Linked DNA regions of Homo sapiens: region 2 is linked to region 1. Evidence: promoter capture Hi-C in 16 types of primary human blood cells and fetal thymus (Javierre and others, 2016). All regions are on one chromosome and are shown on one strand. Each heading gives the region's core, a stretch centred on a gene start or on the middle of the fragment in contact. The rest is flanking DNA. Distances are from core to core; before and after follow the strand shown.

Region 1 (6,365 bases), core at 1,571-4,070:
GAGAGGAATAGTGAAGGTTAGGTTTCTCCCATATCCCCAAATGAATTATCATGTTTCTCAGCCACAAGGGTTCTAAGTCCCTAGGAGTGGCAGCCATGTATTCAAAGAGGGAGAAAGTGCAAGCAGATTTGCACTCCCTCTGAAAAACTGGCAGCTCCTTCATTTCACCCCAAAGCACCATGGAGTAGTGAAAAACACACAATGATGAGGTCAGGAGATATGAGATGTAGGTGAGCCTAAGCAATCTCAAACAAGTTGTCTTTTTAGGCTGAGTTGTTTAACCGTAAAATTTTTAAAGTTGAACCAAATAATCTGTTAATTCTTTCAAGTTCAATATTCTATTGACCCTTTTTTCAGAACACATCCAAGTCGCTCACAACTCCCATTCAAATTGTAAAACAATTAAGATTTAGAATTAGGAGACTGGGGGCAAAAGTGAAATACACAGATGGTCAAAAGACCTGGACTGTAATCCCCGCCATCCCTTTCTACCTGCGTGACTTTGCGCCTCAAAATAAAGTTGTAGGACCAATGAAGCAGCAATCTTTATTGGTCATGCCCTTTTTATTCCTGTATCATAAAATGGATTTTTTTTAACATAACTGGGGTTTCATTCCTAACCAGCCTACAATCCCAGCACTTTGGGAGGCCGAGGTGGGCGGATCACGAGGTCAGGAGTTTGAGACCAGTCTGGCCAACATACTGAAACCCGTCTCTACTAAAAAAAAATTAGCCAGGTGTGGTGGTGTGTGCCTATAATTCCAGCTACTCAGGAGGCTGAGGCAAGAGAATCGCATGAACCCAGGAAGCAGAAGTTGCAGTGAGCCGAGATGAGGCCATTGCACTCCAGCCCAGGCCACAGTGCAAGACTCTGTCTCAAAAAACACAAAAGAAACCCCAAAACCTGGTGGAGACAGACACATAAACAAATCATTAACTACCAGTTGACAAATACTAACTGGAGAGTGTACGAATCAGTTAAGACAAGAGGGATGAAATGTCTAGACAAGCCTCAGAAGTGCTACTTTCGTAAGGTCTTCAAGGGCAAGTTGTTTACTAGGTAGAGAATTCTCAACAAAGAACACTGAAAAACCACAGAGGAAGATGTCATCTTCAGAGAACTGCAACAGTCTTATATAGAGAGGGCAGGCATAATGGTAGAAGATGACACTAGAATGGAGACAAATACCGCTAATCATGAAGGACTTTGAATTTTATCGATATAGACTATGGAGAGTCACTGAAGGACTTGTAAATATGGATTCAAAGTCCCTTCCTCCAAAATAGTCAAAGGAGTTGAGTCAAAGCAACAAAAAATGCAGGTCTGAATGTGGAAAGGTAGAATTTTTACAGAATTCTTAATAGAGACTTTCGGCTTGCTTTCAGGATGGCTTCTAGTGCTTTCTTAACTATGGCTTATGCTGAAGTACGACAGTATGAATTATGGCTAAAGGGTTCAACAAAGTGTGCATTTTTAACCTGAAGATTATTTGAAGCCAATGTTGTTTAGAACACAAACGAAAACAAAAAATAACAGTAACAAGCTTTCATAAATTAAGAGAAACAGTAATAAAGTCCAAGAGGAAGAAGACTGATTTCAGGCAAACACTCAGGAATATTTACATTTTTATCACATATGGATGACGGATAAGACATGTTTTGAACCCATCTTTTGCAGGAGAGCATCTTAAGTTCCTTTTGGTTAAAGAGCAGCTGCCATCTCTAAAGTCTCTAGTCTAAAAGATGATGCTTTAAAAAAAACAACTGGCCAAATGAATAGGTTCCGTCATATTTTAATGCTCAGGAGAAAAGGAATGCTTTTCATATGGCTATTTTAAAAAGCTTAAAGCTCAATTTCTCTCTTACAGGAGTGAGCTACCAACACTCTAATCTGAGACCAGAGTCCCTGCGTCAGTCATTTCCACTCCGCTAAGGCCTTGTCTGGGAGCAGCCAGCCTCATTGGTCGGGGAGCCCACACAGATGAATATGCAATTACTGAAATGGAAACAAGCTTCGCCACCAAGGACCACCACAAAGGAGTCCCTTCATTCCTCCTTTTACTTTATCAAGAAAGTAGGTGCATTATTTAAAAATGTATGAAAATACATGTCTAAAGACAAGAGAGAAGATCTGAACCTACGGCAACGGTGTGCCCCACCAAAGTTTCACCTCAGGATGTGTTTTAGGGTGTGTCTTTCATTTAGCCCAGTAATTGAAAGAAAAAAAAAATCGAACTCATTCGGGGAGCCCCGGTACTTTCCCTATCCACCCTCACACGCAACCAGGCTCCGAAATCAGAGTGCCTCAGCCTCGCCCTGATTTCTCCTGAAAGGCGGCGGCGCCCGCGGCCCGAGGCCCCGCGCTGTCACAGCCGCAGGGAGGGCGCCCTCCGGCCTCCCGGGTCCGCGCCCGCCCCGCGTCCGGCGGCTCGCGAGGGGCTAGAGAGGCTCACCCTGGAGGCCGGGTACGGGAGGGCGACACCGCCTCAGCCCGGGAGTTCGGGCCTCCGCCCCGCCCCGGACTGCGTGCCTGGTCTTGGGCTGCCCCCGGCGCCCGCCGCGACCCCGGCCCCGGCTCTGGCCCTGAGCCCGGATCTCACCGTGCGGAGGTCGCGCTGCCTCCTCGGCCGCGGCCCAGCTGCAGGCCGCCCTGCGACCTGCGGGCCCGAGGACGGAAGGTGAGACGAAGGGCCGCCCGTCACATCCCCGCCAGCCCCGCCGCCCGAGCCGCAGCAACCAGCATCGCGTCCGCGGCCTGAGGGAGCGCCGGACTCCAAAGCCGCCGCGCCCCCTCCCTCGGCCGGCGCCCGCCCGGACTCCGCCCTCCAGGGCCGGCGCACCGCGCACGCGCAGTCCCGCCCCGCCGCGGGCCCGTGCGCAGGCGCGAGCCTCACGGGGCTACGGGGACCGCCCCCACCGCCTGATCCGGCCTCAGCCCACCTCTGGCCCCGCCCCGCCCTCACGCCAGGCTTTCCCAAGCTCCGCCTCCGCTTCGGGCCCCGCCCCCTCCACTGACCTTGCCTGGCCGCCTCCTGACTCAGGTTTTTGCTGGGCCCACGCAGTGACGCCAGTCTTGCGGCTGACCTCACCTCTAGCCGTCCCCTGGACTACATTTGCTGCTTGAGTGCGGTCAAACCTGACAGCTCCTCCTCCTGGATGTGAAAAGTGAGGAGTGGTCTGAGCATTGGGCATGACTGAACCACGCACCTGCCTACCGCATCAAAACACAGGATCTTGCTAAAGCTGAGGGGAAGGGGCACCCCAAGTGCTGATCTGGTTTTCCCTTTTTTTTTTTTTTTTTGAAACAGAGTCTCGCCCTGTCACCCAGGTTGGAGTTCGGTGGCGCTATCACAGCTCACTTGCAGCCTCCTGGGCTTAAGCGATCCTCTCGCCTCAGGCGTGTATCACCAAGCCTCCGAAATAATTACAACTAAGACCACACTAGTCAAAGTAAACTATCACAAGTTGACCCAAATACCCGGCTAATTTTTATTTTTTCTTTTTAGAGTTGGGGGAAGTGGTCTTACAGGCTAGTCTCAAACTCCTGGGCTCAAGCAATCCTCCCACCTTGGCCTCCCAAAGTGTTGGGATTACAGGCGTGAGCCACAGCTCCTGGCCAATGTGGTTTCTTTGCCAGAAACCAGGTCTTTCTTCCCTTTGGGGCTTCCATCCCCCAGAGGCCATCTCTTCCCCTCTTGTTTTTCCTCGACGCGGCCAGTCCTGCTGCTGAGAGTCCTCAGCCTGGAAGGCTTCCGGGCCTGGCCGGCTGTTTAAAGCTCTGGAGTTGCCCTTACCTGGTTGTAGACTTGCAGTTCTCTGAAATCCTCGTCGGCCCCAACAGCTCGGTTGTAATAACATTTCAGGAGAACTGCTTGAAAAATATCCAGTTCTTTCCTGTCTCCAGATCAATGATACTCAAATGGAAAAAGCAGACGGAATGCCTGATTTGTATAACCACACTTCATTTAATAATACACTTTCATATTTAGAAAATAATGTCTTTTAAATATCAATCCCTAAGATATTTAATGTATTGGACAATAATGTGTGCTTAAAATATTGACAAAGACTAGGTCTAAATGCTGTGCAATCTCTCTTTGGATTAAGTGAGATTAGAAAAGCAAACACCAGGCCGGAGGCGATGGCTCAAGCCTGTAACCCCAGCACTTTGGGAGGCCAAGGTGGGAGGATCACAAGGTCAGGAGTTCAAGACCAGGCTGGCCAATATGGTGAAATCCCGTCTCTACTAAAAATACCAACAAATTAGCCGGGCGTGGTGGCGCATTCCTGTAATCCCAGCTACTTAGGAGGCTGACGCAGGAGAATTGCTTGAACCTGGGAGGTGGAGGTTGCGGTGAGATGAGATCATGCCACTGCACTCCAGCCTGGGCGGCAGAGTGAGACTCCATCTCAAAAATAAAATAAAATAAAATAAAATGCCCAGGCCAGTTGTGGTGGCTCACGACTGTAACCTCAACACTTTGAGAGGCTGAGGCGGGAGGATCACTTGAGCCTAGGAGTTCAAGATCAGCCTGGGCAACATAGAGACCTAGTCTATTAAAAAAAAAAGAAATTAACCAGGCTTAGTGGCATATGCCTGTAGTTCCAGCTATTCAGAAGGCTGAGGCAGTAAGATTACTTAAGCCCAGGAGGTTGAGACTACAGTGAGCTGTGATCATGTCACTGCACTCCAGCCTGAGTGACAGAGCAAGACCCTGTCTCCAAAAAAAAAAAAAAAAAAAAAGAAGGCTAGGAAAAAACTTTCCCATAATGCTAATACATGTACATACTTAGCAGAATCACAATAGCATTTTAGTGTATTTTCCTAATTTTATAAGCATCCTTGATACGTTTTATTTGCTTTCAGTTAATTTTCCTGGGTCTTTTCTTTTTTTTTTGAGATGGAATCTTGCTCTGTCACCCACACTGGAGTGCAGTGGTGAGATCTGGGCTCACTGCAGCCTCCACCTCCCAGGTTCTGCGATTCTCCTGCCTCAGCCTTCCAAATAGCTGGGATTACAGGCATGTGCCACCACGCCGAGCTAATTTTTGTATTTTTAATAGAGACAGGATTTCACCATGTTGGCCAGGCTGGCCTCAAACTCTTGACCTCAAGTGATCCGCCCGCTTCGGCCTCTGCTGGGATTACAGGTGTGAGCTACCGTGCCCGGCCTGCCCTTCCTCCATCTTCAAAACCTGCAAGAGTAGTTTGAGTCCTTCCCACATTGCATCACTCTGACCTCCTCTTCTGTCTCAGTCTTCCACTTTTAAGGACACATGATTATGTTGGGTCCAACTGGATGCTCTAGAATAAGAACCTTATTTTAAGGCCAGTTGATTAACAGCCTTAATTCCATCTGCAACCTAAATTCTCCTTTTTTGGCATCCTCTTGATGTAAGAGAGAGACATTCTTTCAGGGGAAGTTTTAGGATTCCATGACAAACAGCACAATGAAACAGTTGATCCAGAGCCCCAGTAGGAGATGATTCTGGAGACCATCCAAAAACAGACAAGTTGGGTGCAGTCCCACACACCTGTAATTCCAGCTACTTGTGAGGTTGAGGCTGGAGGATTGCCTGAGGCCAGGAGTTCAAGCCCCACCTGGGCAACATAGCAAGACCCTGTCTCTAAGAAAAAAAAAAATACAACAGACAAGAATCTCTGATGAAATCTCCTGGCTAGGCATGGTGGCTCAAGCAAGAGCTTTGGGTGGCCAAGGCAGGAGGATAACTTGAGGCCAGGAGTGTGACCAGCCTGGGCAACATGGTGAGAACCCCCCATCTCTACAAAAATAAAAAATAATAAAAGTTAGCTGGATGTAGTGGTGCACACTTGTAGTTCTAGCTACTCAGGAGGCTGAGGTGGAAGAATTGCTTGAACTCAGGAGTTTGAGGCTGCAGTGAGCTATGATTGCACCACTGCACTCCAGCCTGGGCAGCAGTGAGATCCCATCTGTAAATAAATAAGATTAAAAGAGAAATCTCCCCCTTTCATCTCACAAATATTTACTGAGCATCCACAGGCACTGTTCTGGATTAAGTCATGAACAAGGACAGGAGTCAATGGGATTGATTTTCTAGAAGAAATCACCAGTTCTTCACAGAAGGCAGTCTGATGATGGGAACTCTCGGCTCCCACAATCACAGAAAGTTTTCCTTGTTGGCCCTAATTTCGAAGACTTTGCATGCCTTGATGCCTTCTGGATCTAGAATCCAGCAACAAGGAGCATCTTTACCAGTAAAAGACAGAGTATCCACAAACTGGCCTCCTGGTGAAGATGTAGAAAGCCTGCTTCTCAGCTGTGAAGATGACAAACGGGAACAAAGTAGAATGAATTCCTTCTTTTCATTCCCTAAATTGATTG
Region 2 (6,281 bases), core at 3,565-6,064, 3.8 Mb after region 1:
AATCAAGATAAAACTGACAGGGCCAGGCACAGTGGCTCGTGCCTGTAATCCCAGCATTTTGGGAGGCCGAGGAGGGCGGATTACCTGAGGTCAAGAGTTCAAGACCAGCCTGGCCAACATGATGAAACCATGTCTCTATTAAATACAAAAATTAGCTGGTTGTGGTGGTGGGCGCCTGTAATCCCAGCTACTTGGGAGGCTGAGACAGGAGAATCGCTTGAACCCGGGAGGCAGAAGTAGCAGTGAGCCGAGATCACACCACTGCACTTCAGCCTGAGCAATAGAGTGAGATTCTGTCTGAAAAAAAAAAAAAAAAAGATAGAACTGACAGGTCCAAACAGGGAAGCTTCCTGGGTCAGTAGTGTGGACATGTGTCCTCAGTCCTGTGTCCCCTGGTCACACCCAGCTCTGGCCCTGAGAACCTGGGATGACTGAGTAAGCAGAGAGGAGTCCACAGGGTTGTGAAGTTCATAATTCCTAACACAGGATGTGCATTCCTGTGGTGGCCAAGGAGAATGAGGAGAGAACGAGCTTGCACAGGTCGTGGCCATGCTAGAGGGGTTTGACTGAAGTCTTGCTGGGACATAATGTGATAACATGCCTTCTCTGAGTCTCAATATACTCAATATACTGGACAACGAACTTTGTCAGAAACGTGATAGCACAATAAGCATGATGTTAGATTTAAAAAACCTACCAAGCTGAGGGGTCCACACCATCCACCACAGCATAGAACATCAGAGGGTTCTTGCCAAAGCGTAAAGTGAAAACAGAAAAGAAATGCCATGTGCTCAGAGGAGTGATGTGTCCAGCCGTGCCCTCATCTCCTCTCCTTCCTACCTTTCACAGTCCGCCTCTAAGCTTTCACCCAAGCTTACTTCTGTGGGTTCCAAATGTGGATCTCAGAATCAAGAAAACCTCCTAGGTTCTGTAAACGAGAATGATTCACATCACCAGTGTTTACTCGCACCCTCACCAGGCACAACTCCGGGGCTGTGAGGTTCTCAGGCACAAGGCACACCTTGTCCTGCCTGCCTGTCTGTAGGGACATGGGGAGTGTTACTTGAGCCCAAGGGATGGCAAAGCCAGGCTTGCCAGGAGCGAGGAATGTTCCCAGAAAAGAGGGGAGAGGGAAGGCTTTAGAGCACTGGGGACGATGGCCCGGAGGAGGCCCAGTGTCACTCTAGGCTGACCAGGACTAACCCACGTCATGCTCAGGGATCCCAAGGGGCCAGCAAACAGCTCAGCAGGGCTACAGCAGGTGCTTCCTTCAGAAAAAAAATGTGTAGGGAGGGGACCAGGAAAGAGGATGCCTGTCAATGAGACAAGAATAGCACTGGGTGGTCACAGGAGCATGGAAAAACCCAAACAACAGCTAAAACAAGAACAAGACAAAGAAACAACAAGATAACAGAAAACCCAAAGGAAGAGAGTAAAAACAGCTGAAATCCCACTCAGGGTGACTTGTCCATGGCTCTTCTGGGCAAACCCAAAGAAGGGAGAAAGGAGACAGTAACCCAGGGGGTTCCCTGAAATCTCCTCCTCTTCCAGAACACCTAATAATTGTTCCATCCCCTAATTAAAGAAACACCCATAAAATTAGAAACCCAGACTCTGCTGGGTGTGACACGTTCTCATGAGCACGCCCGCACTTCTCTCTCAAGTGTGTACTTTCGCTTCTCACTAACAGTTTCTTGCCTTTCCTATCATTCTGACTCATTCCCGAGTTCTTTCTCAAGACAGTTTCAAGAGCCTGGACATCAACTGGGGCTGGGGTCTCACCAGCATCTGGAGAGCCTCCTGAGTCCTCTGGCAACATCAAGGGAAGGAAGAGAAGATTCCTCCGTGGAGCCCGTCCCCGCACAATTCCCGCCCTGGGACACGGCACGGCTGCTTTGAACCAAGCCTCACCCTTGGCACTCGAGTTGGCTGTGTTCCCTATGATCCATCTACCCACCGTCTCCAGGACAAGCACTGCCCCATTCACTGAAATCAGCACATAGTAATGCTGGATAAGTGAATGAATTGGTGAATGAGTGAACAAGTGAATGTGTGCACAGCTCACTTGTTTAATTGGAGTTCCGAGTTTGGAAGTGAATGAACAGAAAAAAAATCAGTCACCAGACCCCAGATCCAAGTCATGAGATGTAGCAGCTGGATGACCTTGGATGTAGCGCATCACTTCTCTGAGCCTCACCTTCCTTATCTGCAATGAAATCAGGGAGCTTGCCCTGCCACCCCGCAGGGACACGGGAGCAGCAAGGGCTGGGTAGGCACCCAGTCAACGTAAAGCTCACAAGTTGTTGCCACCCTTCATCACGACCCCAGGACATGAAGCAGATACTGTATATCCTGGACCCTCCGGCCGAAAGCTCTTCCGGCTCCTGGGCAGGGCCAGCCCCCAGGCTCCCCAGTGGCATGCCCAGACAGTTCCAAAAGGCAGGACCGAAGCAAAGAGCCAGGATCCAAGCGGGATCCTGACCTGGGATACACACATTCCTCGGCGTGCTTTCCTGCTTTTCCATTCTTTATAAATCAGAAAATTAATTACCAGAAAAAGGATCTTCTGCACCAGAAACTCAAATGAGTTTAATGTATAATTTATACATGAAAATGTAGATGTCTATGTGTGACAAATCTCTGTATAAATATTTTTGCAGTTAAATTTTTAGGCATCTGTCTCCCTCCAAGAAGAGTCATCATGCAGGCATCATGAGTCCCCAGGGCTCAGGCCGGGTGGTGCTGGCAAGGTGGCTTGTCATTTCACCAGTTAGTGATGCAGCTGCCAGCGCAGCCCAGCCCGGAAGGCCCCAGCTTTGGCAGCAGCCACCTGCAGCCAAGTCACAGCTCTGCCCCAACCTCCCCGGCAGGGTCCTGCTGTGTCTTGTTCAAAACAAGGATTTAACACCATGTGCCACCTCTGTGCTGGGCCCAGGGGAGGAAGATAGAGTGGAGGAAGCCCTCACACACCAGTGCCTTTGAGCCCATCGGAGAGCCAGGCAAGCAGATGAGGAATGACAATGACAGGGTGGCAAATGCCAGGGCAGGCGTGGGTCCTACATGCCAGGCAGCCACAGAGGAGCAAGTACTGCCCTATGCAAGAGCATCCCTGAACACTCCAGGGCAGGGGGGCCACTCCTGATGGAGTCTGTCAGGTGGATGAAGGCAGAAGGACATTCCCAACGGTGAGAGCCACTCATGTGAAGACCAGAGACAAGAGCAAGCATGTCCAGATGATGTGGGTGTGGCCTGTGGCACCTGGTGGGGACTGGCCAGCAGTGAGCCTGGCATGGAGAAGAGCCAGATCACCAAGGGAGCTGTGTGCTCAGCCCTGAAACAGGACTTTGTTCTGGATTGAAAACTTCAAAGGGTGAAGGCACATAAGCCTTGCAAACTGTAAAGTGCATGCAGCATCCACAGAAACTACAATCCCTGGCAGGATTGAGTCCTGTGCCAAGCCAAGCCTCAGCAGCCTGCCAGTTTCTGGCCCAGGGGTCCTGGATGATTTCCTTCACCCACAGGTGTACCAGTCCATAGGATTGACTGGCACATGACTTTGCATACAAAACACCTGAAATGTAGGCTAGGCCCTTGCTTCTCATCTGCAGTTGCTACGACCATTTGGGGATGGTCATTCATTGTGTGGGACGTTCCCTGATGCCCTCTCTCCGGATGCCCAGTGGGGCTCCAGAGACAACCCACAGCATCCTCCTGCCGGAGGATCTGGAGGGAGAGGCACAGTCCACAGAAGGGGCCCTAGCCAAGAACTGGTGTGCCACGCATGCCAAGGAGAAAGGAACTGCATATCTACACCACACTCTGGCCCAGAACCAATGGCAAGGGTCACAAATATGCCGTCGTTCACCCTACCATTGCCAACCACGTCGGAGCACAATCTGAAGTCTCAATGGTGTCTTCCCAGAACTCGGGCCTTCCACAACAAGACAAAGCAAGTCCCAACTCCCCGACTCCAATAAGGGCCGCTGGACAGCCTCTGCAGCAGCCTCGAAGCCCTAAGGTCCTGGCCAAAAGGCAAAAGCACAGGCTCATGGGACCTGATGCCCACAAGACAAGGGTTTCAAGCCCCCAGCCCTCATCACCCCAGTGCCCATCTTGAAGAAGGGCACAGCCTGGCCCTGCTAATTTTTCTACCTCCTGGGGGACTGGTGGCCTACCTCTCTGTGACTCCCAGCCACGTACCTCGCTTGGTCTTTGGAGGCCTGAGACCCTCGTCCTGGGCCAGGGCCTCCCAAGTCTCCCGCTCCTTCCAGCGCCTCAGCTGCTCCTCCCGCATTTTGTAGAAGAGGATGTGCTTCTGCACATCGCTGAGCTCGGCAAGGAGCTCGGGGTCGATGTACATGTCGTGCAGGATCTGCTGCAGCATGATGCCACCTGGGATGCACGCACCAGAAGGGCAGCCAGCAGGGGAAGCAGGGCCAGGCAGAACGCCCGAGGGGCTGCTCTGCACTACGGACTGCTCAATCCGGGGCCACTCTCGGTGCCCCTTCTCTGTGCAGCATTGTCAGTTGGCCTCAGCTTGCAGCCAGCGACGAACTCATCTCCTCTACCCAGGACAGCAAAAGAGGCCAGGCAACAGGACCCAAAGGGGCAGGTGGGACTCTGCAAGGGGGAGCAACCACCAGGAGCAATCTAGTCCTTCTCCTGGGTCACCAAGCACGGCATCCCAGGAGAGCCCATGTCTTGGCATCACCTGGGGTTCTGAGACAATGGGAAGGGCCCAAGCCTCCAGCTCAGCCAGGAAATGCCCAGTCCCAGCCCTGCCTGGGCTGGTAGGTGTCGAGTGATCTGTTAGTGGAAGGTAACAATGACACCAGCTATATCAATGACACTGCCCCGGCCAGCTGGGAACTGATCTCTCCTCTGCAGATAAGAGGAGGAGAAGGAGGCAGACTTGCCTACTAAATTCCATGTCTTTTCAGCCAATTTCAAACACAGACCAGAGGAGCCTGCCAGAAGCTGCTGGGCCCCTCAGCCCTCTCAGCCCCTCTCTCTGCGGGTTCCTTCGCTGCCAACTTTCTTCCTTTCCAGAACATTTGGCATTCTGAGATGATGCGTTTAAAACTCTGCCTTGGGGGAGGAAAGATTTTTCCTCCTATCTGTGTTACAGCCAAGAAAGAAAACAAAATGGAATCAGTAGAGACAACTGGAGGGGATTTTATCTTGGAATTCCAGGACAGAAAGGAAGCAGACATCCTTTCCCTTTGGCCTATATATAATGAGATCCTGCAGCCATGCGTGGCTGACAGATAAACCCTCCAGGGGCCAGTTTTAATGGTCGTTGTTAATCTTGTTTGTTGCAGATGCCTGGAGTTGACCAAAAAGAAAGAAGATGAAACTGGCTCTTCTCTGTGCCCTGATCAGAAGCACACTGGAATGGCGGGATGTTGCCTTCTGCTGGGAGGGAAGCCACCCTCTCTTTGGTGTGTGAAGGTGGGTAGAAGCTGCCGTTGCTGAGATCTTTAGGGTGAAAGCTCACCCTAAATATGTGCTCAGAGCAAATCACAGATGCCTTCTTATTGGGACAAGGATATTGAAGCTCAGAGAAAGTAAGTGGCTTGCCTATGGCTTCCTAATGGACAAGTCACTGTATTGGGACTCCCCCGTTTTGAAATTTGACATCCACTAGCAACTATGAATCTGTTGATGGTTTGAAAACATAACCCAACCAAGGGAAAACAAACGAACCAACAGGATTTGGCACTGTGGCTTGGTTGGATTGGTGACCTTCCTGTCCCCTTCCTTGCCCATGAGGGTGGAAGGTGGATCAGGTACCCAAGAGTGATGGAAGAGGGGTGGAGAGTTGGCATTCTTCCCCCTCTGCAAGGTTAACACAACAGGAAGATGGACTAAGCAGATTCAGATGAGCTGTAAGCCCATAGGGTCAAAGCTCCTGCTCAGCTAGGCAATGTCCAGGTCACAGGAGTGGAGTCAGACGCCCCACCCCTCCCCACCCAGGTCCAGCTAGCTGGTCCCAGTGTGCCCAGACCTTCCTAGAGCCGCCACAGGACTCGCCTGTCCGCTGCAGAGCTGTGGCCCTGGACTCCCATCCACCCACCTCAGGGCTTGCACCGACTCCCCCACCGGGAGTCCTGGCTCCCCTCAGTTTCTGAGACCGGGGGTCTTCCCTAGCCTCTGCCCAGCTATTCTCTTTCTCCCCCTCGCCGTGGCTGGTGGGAGACCCCCGAGTCCAAAGAGGAGACAAGGGGAGGAAGGCCCCCAGGGTCTGGGCTCCTGCGGGCAGCTTCTTTTTGTCTTTCCCG

The links. The method cuts DNA at HindIII sites, captures the fragments that hold promoters and counts their contacts. A CHiCAGO score of 5 or more calls a contact.
Region 2: a contact is called between the fragment with the promoter of SH2D4B here and the fragment with the promoter of CCSER2 in region 1, in 3 of 17 cell types (total B cells, M0 macrophages and activated CD4 T cells). The highest score is 7.3, in total B cells.

Annotation. Positions count from the first base shown.
Region 1 is chr10:84,325,044-84,331,408 of GRCh38, reverse strand. CCSER2 (coiled-coil serine rich protein 2) reads right to left here and starts at 2,820. Exons shown (of 10, transcript NM_001284240.2): 1 at 2,601-2,820. RefSeq lists enhancers at 800-879, 1,927-2,276 and a silencer at 2,327-3,056. The HindIII fragment of the contact is 12,289 bases long and covers 2,015-6,365 here.
Region 2 is chr10:80,536,435-80,542,715 of GRCh38, reverse strand. It overlaps SH2D4B (SH2 domain containing 4B), which reads right to left and starts at 4,814. Exons shown (of 8, transcript NM_001388272.1): 1 at 4,201-4,814. The coding sequence starts at 4,384. RefSeq lists enhancers at 1,254-1,373, 1,544-1,603, 1,754-1,933, 2,971-3,110. The HindIII fragment of the contact is 17,935 bases long and covers 876-6,281 here.